Linked DNA regions of Homo sapiens: region 2 is linked to region 1. The links are contacts of gene promoters, found by promoter capture Hi-C in blood cells and fetal thymus (Javierre and others, 2016). All regions are on one chromosome and are shown on one strand. The core of a region is centred on a gene start or on the middle of the fragment in contact, and the rest is flanking DNA. Distances in the headings are between cores, read along the strand shown. Region 1 holds the start of PSMC5 (proteasome 26S subunit, ATPase 5). Region 2 overlaps CEP95 (centrosomal protein 95).

Region 1 (4,489 bases), core at 645-3,144:
TTGTGAGTAAGCATCATGGACCCAGCTAGCCCCAACGTTGGGGGCCCCATCATTGAGCACAACATCAACCTTCCAGGTCTTCAGCTCCTTCCTCAGGGCCTAAAGAGAAGAAAAGGAACTATGGAAACAGAAACACTGGAATGGCCCTGGTTCAGCCATTTGTCCATCTAGTCATTTGCTGAGTGCCCATCATGGGCCAAATGCAGTACCAGGCACAGGAGATACAATAGTAAACAAAAACAGTATGTCTCTACCTTCATGGAGATTACAGTCTGACACTGAATTCACAGGAGAAGACTTCACTAAAGATCTCTGCCCTTCTCCCAATTCCAAACACCTTTATCCCTGACTCTAAATAAAGCCTGGAGTGGACACTACGAATGCCATAGGTCTTGTCGTACAGATGTCAGGCAAGAACGTGCTCAAAGCACGGTAAAAAGGAAAAACTTGCCTTTAGAGGATTTCAGGGATGTAGATGTTTCCGTATAAAGGGGGAAGGAAGAGAGAGACTCCTATTACCTGCCTACAACGTTCTGTTGTGATGTCCTGCTGGAGAGTCACCACATTGGGGAGAGGCTTGATTGGAACCAGGTCCACTCCTGGAAGAAATCAGGTCAGAGTATTCTAAAAGGTTGCTTCAAGCAGGGAGGAGAGAAATACAGGACAAAATACCTTATACACCCACCCCTTAAAACACCAAGGAGAGCTGTCCGTTACTCACCCACAATAAGGCTGGATACAGGCATAAACTTGGCAGCTACCTGCAGCCTATAAAAGGAACAGAAATTTAAAAACCTAGAGCCATCCTTTTCCCCCTCTTGGCAACTGATCTCTCATCCCTGGTGTTACGTGTACTGGCCAAAGCATATCATAGGCACGTATTCCAAGCCCTTTCTCTGCAATCAAGAAAGGAAACGGCCCCCAAGAGGACCGGGATTCGGGTTCCCCTCCCGCAGTGAAACTGGAAGCCATCCCAGCTCAGAACCCAGAAAGCGGCCACCAGGAGCAACCTGTGGCGAGTGTTACGAACCATCCCCCTGGCGCAGCACACAGGTCCAGCAAGGCTCGGGCTTTCTGCAGGAACTGAAAGCGGCGATTGAGCTGGATCAGCTTGAAAGCAGATCGGGAACGGTAACCTGGACAAAACAACCAAGTGCGCAAACTGCTTCACTAGTAGGATTTCTCCGGCCTCGCAACCGACCACCCCTTCTGCAGGAGAGGTACATAATGGTCGCAAAGAGCAGGCGAACCGGGCAGAGATCGCTCGCTCGCTCGCAGACTGAGCGAATCCGGACTCACCCGTCTCCTTCGCCAAGTGATAAAACTTGTCTCGTCGGCTCTTGCCAACTTTGCCCTTCTTGCCCATGGTGGAAAGGGGGAGTATCCCTCAATCTGGGGAGAAAGTAGAAGTTGGGAACGTCTCTTTCCGGAGCACCAGATTCCACTTCCAGTTTCCCACTTCCAGTTTCCCACTTCCCGCAGCAATTCCACCCCGCGCCCCTCTCCGCACACTACCTAGACCCAGAGCCGCTTTCTCCACACTTGGAACCGCACAAGTATGCAGCTAACTACTTCCGCTTCCGCTTGCGTCCCCTGCGTCCCTGGCTCGAGGTTTTCCGCCATTTTGAGTGTGGCCCTAGATTGTTCTCAATACTCTGTCCTTGGGTTTTGTAAGTTGAAAGTTGAGACTAGGAAGGCATATCACAAGAACTATAAACAGAGTTTCAATGAGGCAACACTGAGGAGGAGTTCTACTCCTTCCTCATCCCCTTCCAAAGCCCCTGAACTCGAGTAGCCGCCCCTCCCATCATGGTTCCCTTAGTGTGGTCTCGCCGCACACCCCGCCCATTGACCCGGAATTCTTCTCTGCCTGGTCTTCAGGTCCCAATCCTCCGCTTCCGCGCTTGCGCGCCAAGACGGCTCGGATGCCGGCGGTCTCTGCTGAAGAGAGAAGATGGCGCTTGACGGACCAGAGCAGGTATGGCGGGTGCAGTGGCGGCCCGGCAGGTTACGGGGCTGGGTGCGGAGCGAGCGTGATCTGAGTGGAGAGCGGGCCGGGGCAGGAGCGTCGGGTGGGTCGGAGGTGCCTGGACCAGTCCATGCTGGACGCTGCCTGCGACCGGATCTGCTGTGTCAGCGCCGCCCTCGGTGAGTCAGGGCAAGGCTGGGAGAGGAAGACGCGGTAGAAGCGGAGTGAGTGAGGGAAGCGATGGGCGCGGGAATGGCCGGCCCACGGGTCGCAGGAGACGGGACGCCAGTCCTTTGGCTCCGTTCCGCTGGCTCCTTCGTCAGTACTGACACCTCGGGCTTGTAGAGCACTTCACGCAGTGCAAAGCGCCCCCCGTCTATATCATATCGCCTCTCGGTCCTCCTAAAAGTCGTATGAGGTAGGCGGCGTTCCCATTCTTTTATTTTAGTCCTGGGAAAATGGAGGGTTCCAAGGGAGGGAGGGATTAGAACCCAGATCCTGAGCCTCCGAAGTCCAAACTTTTTCTACTACGCAAAGCTACCTGGTGTCAAGCCTTATTCAAAGTGCCCTGCAAGTGGCTTTACCCCCTCGGATGTTTAACCTGTCGTTTAAGACTCACTCTGTGTCTTCAGATGGAGCTGGAGGAGGGGAAGGCAGGCAGCGGACTCCGCCAATATTATCTGTCCAAGATTGAAGAACTCCAGGTGAGGACGGACTCCAGAGGGAGCTAGGAAGGGTGATGATGGGGGATGGAAACGGACTTCCACAAATCCATCTAATTCCTTTGGGAGTGCAGTGGAAGAAGCTGCTGCTTCTCCTTTCTTGTTTGTTTCTTAGCTAGTAGGGTGTATGTATCAGAAGTAAGCAATCTCTTGTTCTCCTCCAGTCCCATCTCTTTGAGGGTCTTAGTGTTCACAGTTTGTTACACATCTTCGAGTCAAATCTTAATAGTAAAGGTACCTCTAGCCAAAGGTCAACCCTTTTGGAAGAAGCCCGAATGAAAAGGATTCTTATAAAAGGGAAACATAAGCTCAGGAGTTGAAATTTATCACCAAGAGGTTGGGTGAGGGTGAAGTGAGAATGTGAGGAAGGGCATCATTGAGGGATCTGGACAATGCTAATTCCATAGAGACTGAATGAAAGAAATTGGGCAACCCAGAGCCCTAGCCTAAAGCGCTAAACCATAGAAAAAGGACCGTTTATGTTGTTAATCAAATGTTTGTGTTACCAGTAAGGCTTCCAGCAGTAAGGTATGGCTTCCAGTAGTAAGCCTTACAGACAACATAAACAGTAGTCTGTTAGTGTTACGTTATACTGTTACGGTAGGCTGTTAGTAGTTTAACTTTGGACAGGTCCATGGATTTTCAATTTCACCCTAACCCCCTGCGTTGTTCAAGTGTCAACTGTAATATAAATTGGATGGGGGAAAGCCACAAAAGACAATTCTGAATTCCAAGTGCATTTGCAGGTATTATGTTTAGTTTACCATTTTTGAATGCTTTTTCATGTGTTTTTATTCGTTCACCTTAGTAGTCTTGAAGCAGGGTAGCTGATGCTATACCCATGTGCCGTTTGGTAACAGATCTAGATTTTTAAAAATAGATTGTCTTACCTTTACTTTGCTTTTGATTGACAGCGGCTGGGCTAGAACTCAGGTTTCTCACCTAACAATCTTTCCACCAGGTGTTGTTGCCTTCCTGCAAGAAATTTGGTGTTACATGAGCCAGCTGTAACTTTTCTCCATTAGATTCTGTTACTCCTGGACCAGTATTGGACAAGCAGCCTTCTTTGATGGCTGCTGTAAGGTCCAGAGGGACTCTTGAAGGACAGGGCAGGGTCATTAGGATCATACTGGAGAATCTGAAACAACATGCAGGTGCCCTGTGCCCTTCCCTCAGCTCATTCAGACCTGTGAGGTCTTGGCCAAGATCCTACCTCCTCCTGTCTCCTGCCCTTGAATAATGGAATTTGTCTCTTGTCTGCCACAGCTGATTGTGAATGATAAGAGCCAAAACCTCCGGAGGCTGCAGGCACAGAGGAACGAACTAAATGCTAAAGGTGAGTGGAGAAAGATGGGAAGCCGCATGTGGGCAGTTTGTCTGAGGTCTGTCCTTATCTCCCTGCACTGTGTCTTCACAGCAGTGCTTACTGTTTTCTCCCTGTCATCATCTAGTAGTTTCACATGCATCTCTTTTTCCTGAGCCCTATTGTAGCCTCCTTAAATACATGAATTTTGACCTTTGGCCTTCCTTTAATAAGAGTGATGCTTAGCTCATGCACGTAGAATTGGGTCCTGGAGACTCCAAAGGAGTAGCTAGGTGACCACTGTGTCTGTTTGCCATCTAGTTCGCCTATTGCGGGAGGAGCTACAGCTGCTGCAGGAGCAGGGCTCCTATGTGGGGGAAGTAGTCCGGGCCATGGATAAGAAGAAAGTGTTGGTCAAGGTAAAAGCAGCATGACCCCAGGGACCAGCTCGGTCTCCACTGCATTCCCACCCCTTTGTGTGTAGCCTCGGGAGAC
Region 2 (4,489 bases), core at 833-3,332, 690 kb after region 1:
TGGGCACCATTGTCATTGATAACATCTTATCAGGAGACAGGGTTTTGAGAGCAACCTGTCTGACCAAAATTTATTAGGCGGGAATTTCTTCTTCCTAATAAGCCTGGGAGCGATATGGGAGACTGAGGTCTATTTCAGCCCTACAGTCTACAGACCATAAAAGATGGCCACGCCCGGGGGACCGTCTGTAGACCTGCCCCCAGGCGTGTATTCTCTTTCCCAGGGATGTTCCTTGCTGAGAAAAAGAATTCAGCGATATTTCTCCCATTTGCTTTTGAAAGAAAAGAAATATGGCTCTGTTCCGCCCGGCTCACCAACGGACAGAGTTTAAGGTTATCTGTCTTATTCCCTGAACAATTGCTGTTATCCTGTTCTTTTTTTCAAGGTGCCCAGATTTCATATTGTTCAAACACACATGCTCTACAATTTTGTGCAGTTAACGCAATTATCACGTGGTCCTGAGGCTACATACATCCTCCTCGGTTTACAAGATGACAGGATTAAGAGATTAAAGTGAAGACAGGCCTAGGAAATCACAAGGGTATTGATTGGGGAAGTGATAAGTGTCCATGAAATCTTTACAATTCATGTTCAGAGATTGCAGTAAAGACAGGCATAAGAAGTTATAAAAGTATTAATTTGGGGAACTAATAAATGTCCATGAAATCTTCACAATCCACGTTCTTCTGCCATGGCTTCAGCCGGTCCCTCTGTTTGGGGTCCCTGACTTCTCGCAACACCTGGCCGTATTGTTTTATTTTAAAGCATACTAATGCTACTTGTTTGTGATAGCTAAAAATTAGAAACACCTAAATGTCCATTAGTAGGGATTGGTTAGATAAATCATGATAGCTGCATACAGTGGACTGCTCTGTGGCTGTAAAAGATGACTGAATATGCTCTTTGTGCACAATGTTCCGTGTTGGGAACAATCTCTAGCATATGTGATGCGAGAAAAATGTAGTACAATTATAATGGTAATGTGCAGAGTAGTATGCTAGTGTTTGTAAAAACAAAGGTGTGCAGAAGTATTTGCAGTTGTTTGCAATCGGAAGAACTCTCTAGAAGCATATACAAGAAACTCGTAATACTGATTGCTTCCAACAAAGGGAACCTCAGGGTTGCAGGACAAAGGGACAAGAACTTTCAGTGTATACTTTTTGCACTTGCTGAATTTTGAACCATGTTATCTATTCAGAAGTTTTTTTCTGTAATTAAATCTCCAAAATAAAGTATACTATACTGTATTCTAAAACTAAGCATACCAAATATATTTATAAATCACTGTATTATGTGTATTTCATTTATGTTTAGAAATGAATGATTATTCCAGTAAGTTATTTCAAGCTTATGAATAGAGGGAATATTGACAATGTGAAACTATAATCACAAAAAGAGGATTTATACTGTTGATTTATTCTTTGATAGTTGTAAAAGGAGATAAATGTTAATCAGGATAAGTCCTGATTTACATCTCTTAATTTGATACTGACAAGAACAAATTTTTGCGAAGAGAATAAAATACTCTTCTGTCTTAAGTTTTTTAATGCAGTTCTAGGTGAGTGAATGGGTAAATCAGTTCGGAGATAATTTGAGGGCTACTCCCATAGTTTCCCTCTTTTTTTTGCAATTTGTAATTGCTTTATCACCCAAGTAGGACAAGTTCTGGTATTTGTGCTTGTTAAACATACTATAGCAGGGTTATAAACATACATGTTTGTAAAACTCTTTAATGCAGAGCTGTCTTTGACAGATTACACCCACCCTATGAAAAATTGTAAAACAGTTTCTCCTGCAGCATGAAGCACTGCATTCTGGCTGGCAGTCTTAGTTGCTAGGTTGTCAGTATACTCCCCATCCTAGAAACTGAAAAGTTTTGAGGATGCTCTTGGGATATACTTAGGTATTTTTAAGCCGGAAAAACACGTCCAAAACCAAGATTTCTGGTTCATTGTTTTAAACGAAAAAACTCAAACGTTGTCGTTACTAGTAGTAGTATAAAACGTCAAATTTCTGGTTTAGGTTTGTTTTGCATCATGGCTGAGGTTACGAATGGCTAGATTCTCCCAAATGTCAAATTTCTACACTGCTTTTCCCATATTGGTGTGAACTCATGAGAATGCCAGGCATGATCTCCCAAAGGACAATCAGAGTGTCACAAGGGTTAAGTACTATCTATACCTGAGGTTGATTTGGAGTCCATTTCAGGTGACATTAAATATGTCAAGTTTCCATGCTTTTTGCCAACCCATTTCTATTCAACATTTCAACCTAATCATTTATATTAAAAATCTGTTACGGAGTAGGTACTGTGCTAGGGACTGTGCTATGATCTATGAGTGTAAGTTATGAATATGAAGTGGATATGGTAAGAGATGTAGCTGGAGACGCTGAAGATGGAGTGAGATTTAAAAAGGTTTTATATGCAGGGCTTATATTTCAGAAAGGGAGCCAGGGAAAGGATTTTAATCAGAAAAATGGTATGATCTATACAAAATGAGGAGTTAACAAATATGGGGGGTTATGGTGGAGAATTCAGGAATTTCTGATGAAAGTATCCCAACAAGTTTATTGTTTTTTTTTGTTGTTTTGATGTTACTCTGCTGCTATAATCTTCTGAACAAACCACCATTTAGAATAGGATACCACAATCTGAAAGTGTTCTCTCCTGCCACTTTTTCCCACCAATCTGGTAAAGTTCTGTTTAGCTGCAATATATTTTGGTATAAATCTTACTAGACATGTTTTCTTAAGTCCAATTATTTTGCTTCTCCAAAAAAGGAAGGAATATGCCAGTGAATTATTAGACGCCATATTTAAAGCTTCCCCCTTTTTTTCTTCAAATATAATCAGGCAGCAGGAAATTGTTGTTCTTAATATTTATAATTGTTTCACCTGTATTCTTTTTTTTATTTAATCTCCAAGGAGCTGTAAGTTGGTATGTATCGCCTGTATTCTTAAATAGCATTTTCACAATGTTATATCCAAGTTTCAAGATTATGAAGCTTTCAGATTTCATGGTTAAATTTTTTAATAGCTCTATATTCTGTCTCCAGGAGAAAATATAGTGAAAGGAGATAAAGAATCTATTAAGAATCTCCTGGAAATATTTGATGGTTTGTTGGAGTATCTTACAGAACGCATCAGTGAAACATCTCATGAGAAAAGTAAGTTTAAGAATGGAAATTTGGTTTGGTTTACCTTTTATGATGTGTCCCTTTTGCCTTTTATCTTTTTGTGTATTTTTCTTCATAGGAAGCAGATTCACTAATACAGTATACCTGATAACCGTAGTTGTAAATTTCAAATTCTTATTGTTCCAGCTGGTTGGAAACTGTCTTAGACTGTCATCATGTTCTTTATCAACTTGGATGTTGCTCATAAATTACTTCAAAACTAATTTATACTAGAAAGATAAATTTCTGGCTAAATTATTTATTGTCCTATGATTGCATAAAATTTCTTTCTCCAAAATTTCGTGTGTCAGAACTGCTATTTATGGTAAATATTTGGATGTTACTGAGGCATCAACAGGAAGAATTGGTGCATTTGTGTCTTTAGCCTGCACTTACATTTGTGACAGCCTAAATATTTCAGATATTTGTCATTGCAAAAAGTGAAAGAACTTAACTGTCTTAATAATTTGAGATTAAGTAAATAATGCTGTTGGTCACGAATGGAATAATATATTACCTGTTCTTATGTTGAAAAGTTATCAAAAATAAACTTTCAGCAGCAACCACAATTTACATAAATTCGAATACAAATTAAGACAAAAAATTGGGGTAGGCTCATCCTCCATTCTCACTTTGTTTATAGTGAGACCTGTGATAGTCACATTTGAAATTAATCTTAAAGTCTTTAGTTAGAGATAGTTTCCTACCTTTAATCATTGTTACTAAACTGTTTAAAAACTGGGAGGGAAAATTGAAAAGTCTGCCACACTGGACATTTCTTTGTTTCAAAAATTGAGTGTTTTATAGGCGTCTGGGTACTCTGGGAGGATTCCAAGCTGCTTGTCATGTTGATACTCTCAAACCTGTACTTGAGTCAGGGAGACAGCCATAACTACATACAATAAAAGCATAAAGGGGGAATTAGAACTAGGGGAGAGTATTGACAGGTGGGACTCACCTAATTCAAGGCTACCAGTAGGTATTTGTATGCTGTGTACCTTTCTAGTCTTTTTAGTAACAGGGTTAAGAGGTAGAAAACAACCTCTAAGTAAAGAGATTGAGATTAATTTGAAATGTAAAGAGAGCAGCAGTTTTTTACAGTTTAGTGCTTGCTCGCAGGAAGGGGAGGGATGGTAGTGCCTGGCTAATGATATGGCAGTGGGGATGAAGAGAGGAGGAGGCAACTGAGAGATACTTTTATGTGAGTCTGGTGGTGGTGAAAGACTGAAGGATATTCCCAGGGGAGATCGGCAGTATGTGGTGAGCTACTGGGGAAGTTGCTCAGATAGGCTTCCCTATATGACAGTACCTTA

What was found. The method cuts DNA at HindIII sites, captures the fragments that hold promoters and counts their contacts. A CHiCAGO score of 5 or more calls a contact.
Region 2: a contact is called between a fragment that was not itself captured here and the fragment with the promoter of PSMC5 in region 1, in 3 of 17 cell types (monocytes, total CD8 T cells and naive CD4 T cells). The highest score is 6.7, in monocytes.

What each region holds. Positions count from the first base shown.
Region 1 is chr17:63,825,537-63,830,025 of GRCh38, forward strand. It overlaps PSMC5 (proteasome 26S subunit, ATPase 5), which reads left to right and starts at 1,895. Exons shown (of 12, transcript NM_002805.6): 1 at 1,895-1,978; 2 at 2,602-2,673; 3 at 3,958-4,027; 4 at 4,316-4,413. The coding sequence starts at 1,955. FTSJ3 (FtsJ RNA 2'-O-methyltransferase 3) reads right to left here and starts at 2,127. Exons shown (of 21, transcript NM_017647.4): 1 at 1,516-2,127; 2 at 1,300-1,392; 3 at 1,031-1,136; 4 at 722-768; 5 at 520-599; 6 at 1-99. The coding sequence starts at 1,366. RefSeq lists enhancers at 1,240-2,439, 1,576-1,855, 2,236-2,285. The HindIII fragment of the contact is 8,506 bases long and covers 1-4,489 here.
Region 2 is chr17:64,511,192-64,515,680 of GRCh38, forward strand. CEP95 (centrosomal protein 95) reads left to right here. Exons shown (of 20, transcript NM_138363.3): 4 at 3,057-3,167. Among named protein-coding and RNA genes, the nearest start is that of CEP95, 6.5 kb to the left of the region's middle. The HindIII fragment of the contact is 1,475 bases long and covers 1,346-2,820 here.